5 separate regions of the Homo sapiens genome follow, and regions 1, 3, 4 and 5 are each linked to region 2. Evidence: promoter capture Hi-C in 16 types of primary human blood cells and fetal thymus (Javierre and others, 2016). All regions are on one chromosome and are shown on one strand. Each heading gives the region's core, a stretch centred on a gene start or on the middle of the fragment in contact. The rest is flanking DNA. Distances are from core to core; before and after follow the strand shown.

Region 1 (2,700 bases), core at 159-2,658, 1.3 Mb after region 2:
AGCTCAGGAGGCTGGGGCTGCAGTGAGCCATGATTGATCCACTGCACTCCAGCCTGGGCGACAGATTGAGACCGTCTCTCAAAAATAAATAAAAAACACTTACTGAGTATTACCATGTGATAGCTGCTGTTCGAACAATCTAAGCATGATTACGTTAGATTGGTGATGGGTATTCTTACACTGCCAATTTACAGATGGATTAACTAACACGCTGAGGTTAAAAGTAACTTGTCTAAGACCACGCGGCTAATAATTGGGAGTGCCCGGAAGTCAATTCCCTTCTCTAAGCTTCAATTTCCTCATCAGATGATTGGTTTAGATACCCATGTCCACCAGTGCTCAAAATTTTACATCTGTGCTAAATTTAACCAGGAAATTTGGGAGTTATGTTAGTGATGTTTGCAATGGAAAAGAAATGGTTTAGGAAACTTAACATGGCTTGAAACTCTTTAAAAGTCTTTCTTACCATTTTTCTTGTCCCTTTCTTTCATTACTCTCTCCTTGTCTTTTCCCCTTCGTCCTCCTTAAAATAAGTCTCTGAGAGGGAAAAACCTGTGGTTCACATCATGAGTTCATCAGAACCAGGCATCTATGTATCCCATCACATAGGTCAAGGAGCCTCCCAGCAAAGGTAGTAATAATCAGCCTTAGTAGCTGGAAAGATCATTTCATCTGTTTCTCTTCTTGCAAAACCTAAAGTGTTAAATCAGATTCTTGAACAGTAACACTTCCCAAACAAGTTGTCTCTACTGGCTGTTTCCACTTCCTATCCTCCTCTTTTCTCTTAAACTTATTTCAATCAGGCTTCTGTCACACTGCCCCCCAAAGCTGCTGTCATCAAGGTCACTAATGGCCACAGTAGTGCCATATATTGTGAGCAATTCCATCCTCCATCAGCAGCATTGGATGCAGGCGATCAGTCCTCTCTCGATGCTTCCTTAAAGACCCTTGGCTTCTAGGAGTTTCTTCTCTCTTAGTCCTCCTACTGCAGTGCCTGCTTCTGCTCCAACTCCTTGGCTGGCTTCCTCATCTCCTCACCTGTAAATATTGGAGAGCCCTCAGCTGAAAACCATGGACCCCTTCTCTCCTTTGTCTAAACTCACCCCCATAGTAGTCTCCAAACTCCTGGCTTTATGTACTATCCATATGCTGACAACTCCTGCACTTACATCCCCCACCCAGTCCTCTCTCCCATTTTCCAGACTCCGTACTCAGCATCTCCTATGGATGTCAAATAGGCATCTCAAACATGGGTCCTCCCACAGTCTTGTCATCTCCAAGCAGGATAACTCTTTCTTCCAGATGTTCATTCTAATGCCTTGGAGTCACCCTTAGCGCCTCACTTTTTCCATCCAGTCCATCAGTGAATCTGTCAGCTTCGCCGCTTCCACAGATCCAAATCCCTGGCATTCTCTCTTGCTTGTATTATTGCAATTGCCTCCAAACTGGTCTCCCTGTTTTGGCTTTTGCTTTCTTGTAGTCTCTTCTCATCAGAATAGTTGGAGATCCTTTCAAAGTGTAAGGCAGATGGAATCACTCCACTGCTCAAAATGCCCCAACGTTCTCTGTGTTACAAAGTTAAATCTAAAGCCTTCCTGTCTCTAGGGTGTTCCCTTGCTACCTCTCTGAATCTGTTTCCTAGCATGTACCTCCTTGCCCATTCAGCTGAAGCCACATGGTCTATTCTTTGTTCCTTGAATACACTACACACGCCATTGCCTGGGGCCTTTGTGCTTGCTCTTCCAGGAAGGCTCTTCACACAGCTATCCACAGAGCTCTCCCTCCCTGACTCATTCATTACCTTTATCTAATCTTTCCATGCAAAATAGGAATCCCTTCCCACCCTTCCCTGCCTTATTTTTTCCAAAACGCTTACTATAACTGTCCTCTCCCCTAGAATATAAACTGCATGAGGTCAAAAATCTTTGTATTTTTTTTTTCTCTGCTATATCCCCAAGGCTAGAAAAATGTCTGACACATAGTAGATGTTAAAAGAATGAATGACTCGGCCAGGCGCGGTGGCTCACGCCTGTAATCCCAGCACTTTGGGAGGCCGAGGTGGGCAGATCACAAGGTCAGGAGATGGAGACCATCCCGGCTCACACGGTGAAACCCCGTCTCTACCAAAAATACAAAAAATTAGCCAGGCGTGGTGGCGTGTGCCTGTAGTCCCAGCTACTCTGGAGGCTGAGTCAGGAGAATCGCTTGAACCCGGTGGTGGAGGTTTGCAGTGAGCCAAGATCGCGGCACTGCACTCCAGTCTGGGCAACAGAGCAAGACTGTGTCTCAAAAAAAAAAAAAAAAAAAAAAAAGAATGAATGACTCTAGGTCAGTTTCTACAACAGATGCTGACTGACCAGCCAAGCTCTTTATGGAATTCTGTTCACTTAGAGTAAGCAAATCTTCCACAGCACTACGGGGGGGTGGGAGTGGGAATGTGGTGGCTGGGAGGACCACTAAATCTTTTTTGCTATAAATTGCTTTCCCGTATGATGATATTTACCACACCAGGATTTCAGCTCTAGCTCAAAGCTTGCTTAAGGATATTTGTCAGAGTGAGCTTGCCTGAGAGTTCAGTAATTCTCAAGATGGTTTCCCTGAAAGAATCCTTGTTCAAACACCATCCCTTTAAAAGTCCTTAATCCAGACTGCCTGTTCTGCAGACATTCTCAGATGCATTATTTAAAGTTATTTCCAGTG
Region 2 (2,700 bases), core at 70-2,569:
AGTGGGCCGGGGTAGGAATCGGGCTACCGTGGCTTGTCGGAGATGAGGAATGTTTTTAGAAAATTGAACTGACCATCCCTTCCTTCCCCTGAACAGCAGCTTGTATGCAACTATAAAGGTAGTCTCCCTTTCAGCCCTGCTTGCTGTGTCTTTATTCTTATCAAAAACCAGGATCTGAGTTCAGAGGGCAGTGAAACATAAAATGAAATAGGAAAGGTTGCAGTAGTACATAGACTTTGGCTGCTCCCACTAACCTGCAAAAAAAATATTTTCCTTGGGCGTACCTTAGCAGTTCCATGGCAGAAGTTTTATCTCCTGTGGTTCAGAGAGTTTGGCTCGTCAAGCTGAATGTAGGGTTAAAGTGTGTCCTCCCTCCTCTGTGGGTGTTTGCCTAGCTCCTGGCTGTGGGTTGAAGGGACTGGTAAATATGTCTATTTTACTGCTGAGGCAGGGTGGCTCAGTGCTTGGTCACCTTGGAGGGATCATAAGCAAGCCGCCGCTGGGGCCCTGTGCCACGCACAGGTATTCATGCGTGCGTGCAAGCACACCCTGTATAGCTGTGTAATAATTGTCCAGGTGTGGTGCATTCTTTGTCAGATGTACCCTTGTTTTTACTGCCTCTGTGCAGGATGTTTATTTGCTGTGCTTCAGGCTGGGGCACGTAGCTTGATCAAGGGTAGTTTTTGCTGTGGCCCCTGCAAATACGTTGTGGTGCCCAGAGTAGATGAAAAACTGTGAGTTTCCCAATAGAGCGGGTTCATCTGGACTCTTGTTGGTTGCGTTCTAGGAGCTAATTCTGTGGCTCTGGACTCTTCCCTGGAGGTGGGGATGAGGCCGGGGCCGGGGGGAGGTGGTCTTGTGGCGCTACTGCGGGCTGTGCACTCAGGAAAGTGGCCACGGTTTAGGACGACCTCGACACGACCCTGTATAGGACGCAACTAACTCCAGAGAAAACGAGCGAGCCCCATGCAACTCTTCATTCCTGCAGGGAGAACAAGGAGGTGTGCCCGCCAGGGAAGGGACGCACCCCCACCGGCGCTCGCTGCCTTAACTTCCCCATCCCCGCGCCAGGGAGGGGCCGGAGTCGCCGCCGAGGCCGCCGAGCGCAGAAAGTGCGCGAAAGGGACGCGCTGCGAGCCTCACACGTGACGGCGCCGCGCCGAACCGAGCGGGACCTGGCGGCAGCGGCGGCGGGCGCAGCGGGGCGGCCCGGAGCGGCGCGGGCGGCCTGGAGCCCCGGGAGCGGCGCGCGCGGTCCCGGCCCAGCGGCTCTCCTGGCCTCGCGCTGCACATTCTCTCCTGGCGGCGGCGCCACCTGCAGTAGCGTTCGCCCGAACATGGCGACACGGAGCAGCAGGAGGGAGTCGCGACTCCCGTTCCTATTCACCCTGGTCGCACTGCTGCCGCCCGGAGCTCTCTGCGAAGTCTGGACGCAGAGGCTGCACGGCGGCAGCGCGCCCTTGCCCCAGGACCGGGGCTTCCTCGTGGTGCAGGGCGACCCGCGCGAGCTGCGGCTGTGGGCGCGCGGGGATGCCAGGGGGGCGAGCCGCGCGGACGAGAAGCCGCTCCGGAGGAAACGGAGCGCTGCCCTGCAGCCCGAGCCCATCAAGGTGTACGGACAGGTGAGCAGTTTTGCAACCCGCCTCCCTCCAGTTTTTTCCTCTCCCTGCACTTCCTCACCCCCGCATCCATCCGTTGCAGTCGCCTCCTAGGTGCAGGCACCACTGGGGACTTCCCGGCTTGCATTTGTTTTTTTCCTTCACGAGTACAACCGTCAGCACTTGAATCGCATTGATCTTTCCTTCTTCCTGTCGATTTAGTAAACGTATTCCAGGTAACTCGCCGGGTGCAGTGCGTATTACCCCAGGGTGTGTGCAGAGAGATGTAGTTTCCGGCAGGTATAGGAGGGGTGCAGCTTCATTTTACATCTGGATAAAAAACGGGCTTTCTTTAGTGTATCATCAGTTGGCAGTGGAGGCGAGCACCCTGCAGTTGCGGTACACTTACACAGAACAGCACGAGGTGGGGGTTTCCACACTTAGCATTATTAGCACAATAAAAGTGGGCAAACCTGAAAGCTTGTCGACTATCTCTGTACAGTCAGACAAGAGGTGTGTGTATGTGTGTGCGTGTGTAAAGGCTGAATTTTTAATTTTTAATTTTTGGCGAGCGTGTGAGATGCTCTCCATTCCTTCTTCCCCACCCTTCAAGATGCTGACTCTCCCACCCCCGTCAAGATAACTTTATTTTGGAGAGGAATACCCCTCATGGCACTTGGAGATTTGAAAGGACTGCAGGAAATTTGGTGGGCATTATTATTCTATAAGTGATTTATTTCTACCCAGGCAATAGGTTTATTAGATCATAAGTAACGTGAATTTCACTTTTATGGTCAGACTTACTGCGAGGAATTGCAGATGGAGTTTGTAGGTTAGGATCAGCACTGGCAAAATTAATTTGACCGTGTTATTGCCTCATGAGACTCCCAGTCCTGCAGTTAAGATTGACATCAGCAAAAGTATAAGGTCGGTGGGGGAGAAAAAGTAGGACCAGAGGAGGGGGTAAATACACTTGTTTTCTAGAGTCAAATTGTTCCTTTTGAAGTAGAAATTATTAATAAAAGATTACCCTGAGTTCTGCCTTTTCTCACTAATTTCACTTTAGCCATTTCTTCAGGAAATACAGAGTTAAATGTTCAAC
Region 3 (2,700 bases), core at 164-2,663, 1.6 Mb after region 2:
CTACAAAGATAAAAAAAAAAAAAAAAAAAAAGCTTACAGTACTCCTGCACAATTTGCCCACAAGGTGACTGCTTGTGGACAAAGGACAGACAGAACTCACAGTTACCCCTCTGCACACATGAGATAAATGCATATCTGATTGCTTCCTTTGCCCTATTTCACTAAGCCGAACTAATTTTTTATGTTTTTTTTTTTTTGTTTTTTTTTTGAGATAGAGTCTCACTCTTGTCGCCCGGTCTGGAGTACAATGGTGCGATCCTGGCTCACTGCAACCTCTGTCTCCTGGGTTCAAGCAATTCTTCTGCCTCAGTCTCCTGAGTAGCTGGGATTACAGATGCATGCCACCATGACTCGCTCATTTTTGTATTTTTAGTAGAGCTGGGGTTTCTCCATGTTGGCCAGGCTGGTCTTGAACTCCTGACCTCAGATGATCTGCCTGCCTCAGCCTCCCAAAGTGCTGGGATTACAGGTGTGAGCCACTGCGCCTGGCCCTAATTTTTTATTTTAGTAGAGATGGGGTTTCACCATTCTGGCCAGGCTGGTCTCAAAGTCCTGACCTCAGGTGATCCACCCTCCTCGGCTTCCCAAAGTGCTGGGATTACAGGTGTGAGCCACTGCGCCTGGCAAATCTCTTCTTTGGTTCAAGTGATTTATAATCAAGTGAGATTAACAAGGAAAGACTATTAAACAGAGAAAAAGAAATGATTTATTTGAAATAGTATCAAGGAGAGTGTCCCAGACAAGTTGGTGGCATTTGAGCTAGGCTTTGAGAGGCAAGGAGAAAAGGCCTGGAGGGAGCATTCCAGCTACACAGAAGGGCACTAAAAAAGGCATGCAAGCATATGGGCATCTCCCAGGCACATTTCAGCTGCAGCTGTTCCAAATTGTTTCACTCAAGCCCTCAACCCTGCCTTTGATCACGTGTTGCTCCACAGCTCTTCAGAGCCTTTCCTGAGAAGGTTCTCTCAATCAGATAAAACCTATGAACTCTGACCCAGAAAAAACTCACATATTATTTTGCAGATAATTCCATGGGGTTCCTAGCACTCAAGGGAAAGCCCTCTGCTTTAGGCACAGATGGGGAAGAGCTAGGATCACAGCCCTTCTCCTGGATGTGGTACTTGTTTGTTCTAAATATTTGTGGGGGCCAGATGCGTGGTGGTTCACGCCTGTAATCCAAGCACTTTGGGAGACCAAGGCTGGTGGTTTGCTTGAGCCCAGGAGGTTGAGGCTATAGTGAGCCAAGACTGCGCCACTGTACTCCAGCCTGGGTGACAGAGTGAGACCCTGTCTCAACAAATAAAATTTAAAAAAAGAAAAAAATGTAACTGGGTGCGGTGGCTCACAACTGTAATCCCAGCATTTTGGGACGCCAAGGCAAGCAGATCACTTGAAGTCAGGAGTTTGAGACCAGCCTGGCCAACATGGTGAAACCCTGTCTCTACTAAAAAATACAAAAATTAGACAGGTGGCCTGACGTGGTGGCTCACGCCTATAATCCCAGTCCTTTGGGAGGCCGAGGTGGGCAGATCACCTGAGGTTGGGAGTTCAAGACCAGCCTGACCAACATGGTGAAACCCCGTCTCTACTAAAAATACAAAATTAGCCGGGCGTGATGGCGCATGCCTATAATCCCAGCTACTCGGGAGGCTGAGGCAGGAGAATTGCTTGAACCCGGGAGGCGGAGGTTGCAATGAGCCAAGATCACGGCATTGCACTGCAGTCTGAGCAACAAGAGCGAAACTCCGTCTCAAAAAAAAAAAGAAAGAAAGAAAAAACTAGGTGTGGTGGTGTGCGCCTGTAAACCCAGCTACTCAGGAGGCTGAGGCAGCAGAATCACTTGAACCTGGGAGGCAGAGATTGCAGTGAGTGGAGATTATGCCACTGCACTCCAGCCTGGGCAACATAACAAGATTCTGTCTCAAAAAAATAAAATGAAATAAATAAATATTTGCGGCTCGGTGCAGTGGCTCATGCCTGTAATCCCAGTACTTTGGGATGCCGAGGCGGGTGGATCACGAGGTCAAGAGATCGAGACCATCCTGGCCAATATGGTGAAACCCTGTCTCTACTAAAAATACAAAAATTAGCTGGGTGTGGTGGCATATGCCTGTAGTCCCAGCTACTAAAGAGGCTGAGGCAGAAGAATCGCTGGAACCCAGGAGGCAGAGGTTCCAGTGAGCCAAGATCATGCCACTGCACTCCAGCCTAGGGACAGAGTGAGACTCTGCCTCAAAACAAGACAAAACAAAACAGAAAAATGTTTGTAGGGTGTTGTTGGCCCCACATCCTGTTGTACTCTGTAGGGTAGGTTTCGTTTTGTTTCTTTTTTTTTTTTCTTTGAGACGGAGTTTCACTCTTTTTGCCCAGGCTGGGGTGCAATGGCATGATCTTGGCTCACCACAACCTCCGCCTCCCGGGTTCAAGTGATTCTCCTGCCTCAGCCTCCTGAGTAGCTGGGATTACAGGCATGTGCCACCAGGCCCAGCTAATTTTGTATTTTTAGAAGAGATGGGGTTTCTCCACGTTGGTCAGGCTGGTCTCGAACTCCTGACTTCAGGTGATCTGCCCGCCTCGGCCTCCCAAAGTGCTGGGATTACAGGTGTGAGCCACCATGCCCAGCTGGAAGGGTAGGTTTCTTGGCAGGTGATAGAGCTGACTTAGTAATGCAAAATTGCTGGGATAGTTGGAAAAGAAGGA
Region 4 (2,700 bases), core at 195-2,694, 1.7 Mb after region 2:
AAAAATGCAAAAATTAGCCAGGCATGGCGGCCCAGCCTGTAGTCCCAGCTACTTGGGGGGCTGAGGTGGGAGGATCACCTGAGCTTGGAAAGTCGAGGCTGTTGTGAGCCATGATTGCACCACTGCACTCCAGCATGGGTGACAGAGTAAGACCCTGTCTCTAAAAAAAAAAAATAAGATATGCAACTTCCCTAGTTATTCCTGCAAATAACACTATTGTAGAACCTAAGATTGGCCCTTTGAGCTATCTTTCCAGGTTTTTTTTTTTTTTTTTTTTGAGATGGAGTGTCTCTCTGTCGCCAGGCTGGAGTGCAGTGGCACAATCTTGGCTCAGTGCAACCTCCGACTCCCCGGTTCAAGTGATTCTCCTGCCTCAGCCTCCTGAGTAGCTGGGACTACAGGCATGTGCCACCACACCCAGCTAATTTTTGTATTTTTAGTAGAGACAGGGTTTCACCACGTTGGCCAAGATGGTCTCAATCTCCTGACCTCGTGATCCGCCCACCTCGGCCTCCCAAAGTGATGGGATTACAGGTGACAGCCACCGTGCCCAGCCAGGTTTTTTTTTTTTTTGAGATAGTCTTGCTCTGTCACCCAGGCTGGAGTGCAGTGGCTCGATCTCCTCTCACTGCAACCTCCGCCTCCCAGGTTCCAGTGATTCTCCTGCCTCAGCCTCCCGAGTAGCTTTTTTTTTTTTTTTTTTTTTGTATTTTTAGTAGAGACAGGATTTCACCATGTTGGTCAGGCTGGTCTCGAACTCTTGGCCTCAAGTGATCCACCCGCCTCAGCCTCCCAAAGTGCTGGAATTACAGGTGTGAGCTACCACGCCCAGCCTCCTCCTGCCCAATTTTATGTGGCTTCCAGGATGTCTGGTTCTCCCATTATCCTGTAAGCTCTTTGACATCAAGTACCATTCATTGCTGCCTTCTCATAGTACTCAGCCCAGGGTCTCACACTGCAGGTGTTCAATTAATATTTGTTGAATTTATCTGAGTGTAACCCACACGCTCATTTTTACCAATGAGCAAACTAAGACCCAGGGGTAAAAGAGACAGCCCAAGGTCCTACAACTCATTTAGCGGCAGAAATAACCCATATAATAACCCATCCTCCCAGAATTACTATAAAGCAGCTTTAGAATAGCTGGGAAATTCACTGGTTTGCACTGTACTAAGCTAAGCTTTGTTAAGAAGGAGCTTTGTAAGAAGGAGCTCTGGCTTAACCCTGATCACTTTCCACCGGACACAAAAATGCTCAAATGAAACCAGTGCCCTACATTCCAGGCAGAGCTAGAGAACCCAGCACCAATTTAGTGCATACAATAGATACTTAAACATTCAATAACAAATGCCAAGAGCCAGCTATGAAAGTTGCCAATTTAAGCCACTAGAGGGAATCAAAGGCTCAGATTCGTCTGATGTCCCCAAAAAACTGGAACATTGTGGCGGGTGGTGTGCTTTGACAGTCAGCCAAGTCCTATTTATACCATATCCAGAATTAAATACAGCAGTGCAGGGAGGAGCCCCTCTGTGAATACAAATGGCTTCATCAAGGCAGGGAGCCATGAGATCAGGGCGCATACACTTCTAGTCTTCCTTGAACTTCAGTTCGTTAGACTCCAGGAGGCCACTGAGATTTCTACAGATTTCTAAGGTCCTTCTCCTTCTGTCCCTTTTTTTTTCTTTCTTTCTTTCTTTTTTTTTACATTAAAGCTTTTACATTTTTTTACATTGCTCAAAGGGTCTTCTGTACTTTTTTTTCTTTTCTTTTTTAAACCCACCTAAGCAGAGAGGGGCCTGGGTTCTGTCTCTTTTTTTTTTTTTTTGAGACAGAGTGTCACTCTGTTGCCCAGGCTAGAGTGCAGTCGCGCAATCTCGGCTCACTGCAACCTCTGCCTCCCAGGTTAAAGTGATTGTTGTGCCTCAGCCTCCTGAGTAGCGGGGATTACAGGCATGCACCACCATGCCTGGCTAATTTTTGTATTTTTAGTAGAGACGGGATTTCACTGCGTTGGCCAAGCTGGTTTCAAACTCCTGACCTCAGGTGATCAGCCCGCCTCGGCCTCCCAAAGTGCTGGGATTACAGGCCTGAGCCACCATGCCTGGCTTTTTTTTTTTTTTTTTTTTTTTTTAATCCAGATTCTCCCTCTGTAGCCCAGGCTGGAGTGCAGTGCTGTGATCTCGGGTTCATGAGTAACTGGGATTACAGGGTTGCACCACCCACCGAGCTATTTTTTTTAGTAGAGATGGGGTTTCTCCATGTTGACCAGGCTGGTCTCAAACTCCTGGCCTCAAGTGATCTGCCCGCCTCAGCCTCCCAAAGTCTAGGATTACAGGCATGAGCCACCGCGCCCGGTCCTGGGTTCTATTTTTTTTTTCCCCAGACGGAGTCTCGCCCTGTTGCTCAGGCTGGAATGCAATGGCGTCATCTCAGCTCGCTGTAACCTCCGCCTCCCAGGTTCAAACGATTCTCCTGCCTCAGCCTTTCAAGTAGCTGGGATTACAGGCAGGCGCCACCATGCTCAGCTAATTTTTTGTATCTTTAGTAGAGACGGGGTTTCACCATGTTGGCCAGGCTCGTCTCGAATTCCTGACCCCTTATGATCCACCCGCCTCAGCCTCCCAAAGTGCTGGGATTACAGGTGTGAGCCACCGCGTCCGGCCTCTGTCTTTAACTCCAAGGCTTAGCAGTGCTCATGGG
Region 5 (2,700 bases), core at 168-2,667, 1.3 Mb after region 2:
GAAAGAAATGCAGGGTGTCATGAGAATGTGTAACTGGGAGATTTAAGGATCGGGAAGCCAGGCGTGGTGGTTCACACCCGCAATCTCAGCTACTTGGGAGGCTGAGGAGAGAGGATCGCTTGAGCCCAGGAGTTTCAGTCCAGCTTGGGCAACATAGTGAGACCCTCTCTCAAAATGAAATGAAATGGAATGAAATGAAGAAATGAAAGGAAATAAAGGATCAAGGAAAGCAACATAGAAGATTTAAGCTAAGATTGAGAGGTGGGCAGAGATATTACTGTAGGGAAGGGAAAGAATGTTCCTGAAGAAAGAATGCATGCCCACTGCTCAGCTGTGAGAAAATGTGGCACGTTCAAGGAACTGAAAGAAATCTAATGTTGCCGGAAGAGGGTAGCCTAAAGTAAACCAGGGAAGGGCCAGAAAATAGAGCATACAGGCAAATTAGCCATGTTAAGGTTCTGGAACTTTACCCTAGAGGAAATAGGGAGCTACTGGGTTGTTTTAAGAAGAAGAGTGTATGATTATCATTGTATATTTGGAGAATAAATTGGAAAGGGCAAAACCGGAAGCAGGAGATTTGTTAAAGCTGCCGGAGTTGTCAAAGCGAGGGGTGATGGGGCTTAACACAGAGAGAAAACAAGGGATAAAAAAGAACCAGTGTCCAAGAAATTTAGGAGGCACACATGGACAGGACCTAATGATGAATTAGATAGGAGAGGTGAGAGAAAGAGAGAAGTCAAGGATGGATCTTAGGTGGATCTTAGCCTGTTGATCTCAGTGCTAAGTGTAGTACAGGCCGTGAGGTAGATGCTCAGTAAGAATGAGGAGCGTCGCTAAAGCCCCACCTTCTACATAAACTCCTGAATTCTCCCAGCATTCTCTCTGTGTTCCCCTAGCCCTTTTTTTTTTCATTCTGCATGAATGAAACTTGGGAAATTGCATGGATGCTCTGCCCTGAGCCAAGAGACTCTGGAGAGAAGCAAAATTGGCGGGGAAAAAGGTGAGTTCACTTTTTGAACACATGAGGTTTAGTGCAAGCAAGATATTCAAGTGGAGATTTCTAGTAAGGAATAGGTCAGGACGCCAGAGGGTTGAGCAGGAGAAACTGGAGGGACCTGGAGACTAAGGGCATCCTTAGCATGTAGAAGCTGGAGGTATGGCCCAGGGAAGAGCTGGGATTACCCGGAGAGAATGAGTAGAATGTATGGAGAAAGACTGGACAGATTCCTGAGGAATACTAGCAATTAAAGTGCCTGTAGAGAAGTCAGAGTTTACAAAGGAAACTGAGAATAAGCCACTAGAGAAAAGGGCAAAAGACAAACCAAAGGGGCATAATCAGGAAAGTAAAAGTAGAGAACAAAGGGAGGGCTCCTAATGGGAAATGCCGTTGAGAGGTCAAGAGACAAAAATCCCATTGAATAGAGTGTGGTGACTCAGATTCTCACTGTTACTTACTAAGTGACCTTAGACCAGTTATTTACACTGAGCCTCATCCATAAGTTGGAACGATTGCATTGTATTTAGATTGGTGTCTTAATACATGTGCAGTAAATCTTAGCCATTATTATTCAATGGCATGAATAACTATTAGGGACTTTGTTAGTGGGGAAGTGCCAAATTAGAGTGACTTTTAGCTGAAGGGGAAAGTGCAATTGAGCACTTGAGAGAGGCTGTTTAAATGCAAAGAAGCAGTTCCAGGGAGGAAGAGATAGAAGACAGAGGAGAAGACAGGCTTTCAGTGGGAATAAAGTAAAGCAACACAGAAGGACAGGCATGGCAAGAAGCCTGAGCCATGGGGTTACACAGCATGACAACAGATGTGGTCAAGTGCAATGGTCAGGAAGAGGCAGGAAGAGCTACGGTGGGAGTTGAGCCTGTAAAGAATGTTACATTCATCCAGGCACAGTGGCTCACGCCTGTAATCCTAGCACTTTGTGAGGCTGAGGTGGGCAGATCACCTGAAGTCAGGAGTTCGAGACCAGCCTGACCAACATGGAGAAACCCCGTCTCTACAAAAATACAAAATTAGCTGGGCGTGGTGGTGCATGCCTGTAATCACAGCTACTTGGGAGGCTGAGGCAGAAGAATTGCTTGAACTCAGGAGGAGGAGGTTGTGGTGAGCCGAGATCACACCATTGCACCCCAGCCTGGGCAACAAGAGTGAAACTCTGTCTCAAAAAAAAAAAAAAAAAGTTACGTTTATGAATTTGAATATTTGAATTTTGCTTTGTGTGGATATAAGGGAGCCATGGACAGTTGTACAGGAGTGGAAGGGTTTGTTTTGTTCTGCTTTGTTTTGTTTTTGAGACAAGGTCCCACTCTGTTGCTCAGGCTGGAGTGTGGTGGCACGATCACGGCTTACTGCAGCCTCAAATTACAGGGCTCAGGGATCCTCCTGCCTCAGCCTCCTGAGTAGCTGAGACTACAGCATGTGCCACCACACCCGGGTAATTTGTAAATTTTTTGTAGAGACAGGGTCTCACTACGATGCCCAGACTGAGGAGTGGAAAGTTTAACTCAACCTGTTTTAGAAAAATTATTCTAACAATAGAGAGAAGTATGGATTATAGAGGAGGAAGATTTAGAAAAGAGCTGTCCACAGTGTGTGGCTGGGGGAGGAATTTTAATAGAGAGCAAAAAAATCACTTGTAAGCATTTAACCTTGGCTAGGTCACTTAACCTCATCAAGACTCAATTTCT

Evidence for each region. Contacts are between HindIII fragments. The CHiCAGO score rates a contact against its expected background, and 5 or more counts as called.
Region 1: a contact is called between a fragment that was not itself captured here and the fragment with the promoter of SORL1 in region 2, in 1 of 17 cell types (non-activated CD4 T cells). The highest score is 5.2, in non-activated CD4 T cells.
Region 3: a contact is called between a fragment that was not itself captured here and the fragment with the promoter of SORL1 in region 2, in 2 of 17 cell types (non-activated CD4 T cells and activated CD4 T cells). The highest score is 7.5, in non-activated CD4 T cells.
Region 4: a contact is called between a fragment that was not itself captured here and the fragment with the promoter of SORL1 in region 2, in 2 of 17 cell types (non-activated CD4 T cells and activated CD4 T cells). The highest score is 5.5, in non-activated CD4 T cells.
Region 5: a fragment that was not itself captured here is called in contact with the fragment with the promoter of SORL1 in region 2 in 2 of 17 cell types (activated CD4 T cells and non-activated CD4 T cells); the score reaches 7.7 in activated CD4 T cells.

The regions. Positions count from the first base shown.
Region 1 is chr11:122,718,957-122,721,656 of GRCh38, forward strand. The region is part of intron 1 of UBASH3B (ubiquitin associated and SH3 domain containing B); the gene reads left to right. Among named protein-coding and RNA genes, the nearest start is that of UBASH3B, 65 kb to the left of the region's middle. The HindIII fragment of the contact is 2,244 bases long and covers 287-2,530 here.
Region 2 is chr11:121,450,995-121,453,694 of GRCh38, forward strand. It overlaps SORL1 (sortilin related receptor 1), which reads left to right and starts at 1,320. Exons shown (of 48, transcript NM_003105.6): 1 at 1,320-1,622. The coding sequence starts at 1,338. It overlaps SORL1-AS1 (SORL1 antisense RNA 1), which reads right to left and starts at 1,973. Exons shown (of 3, transcript NR_183636.1): 1 at 1,681-1,973. RefSeq lists enhancers at 277-336, 1,727-1,916, 1,927-1,976, 2,017-2,086, 2,107-2,156 and silencers at 1,207-1,256, 1,387-1,436. The HindIII fragment of the contact is 8,160 bases long and covers 1-2,076 here.
Region 3 is chr11:123,085,586-123,088,285 of GRCh38, forward strand. The region is part of intron 2 of CLMP (CXADR like cell adhesion molecule); the gene reads right to left. Among named protein-coding and RNA genes, the nearest start is that of HSPA8, 25 kb to the left of the region's middle. The HindIII fragment of the contact is 2,767 bases long and covers 31-2,700 here.
Region 4 is chr11:123,102,023-123,104,722 of GRCh38, forward strand. The region is part of intron 1 of CLMP (CXADR like cell adhesion molecule); the gene reads right to left. Among named protein-coding and RNA genes, the nearest start is that of HSPA8, 41 kb to the left of the region's middle. The HindIII fragment of the contact is 532 bases long and covers 1,179-1,710 here.
Region 5 is chr11:122,736,713-122,739,412 of GRCh38, forward strand. All of the region lies in intron 1 of UBASH3B (ubiquitin associated and SH3 domain containing B), which reads left to right. Among named protein-coding and RNA genes, the nearest start is that of UBASH3B, 82 kb to the left of the region's middle. The HindIII fragment of the contact is 3,376 bases long and covers 1-2,700 here.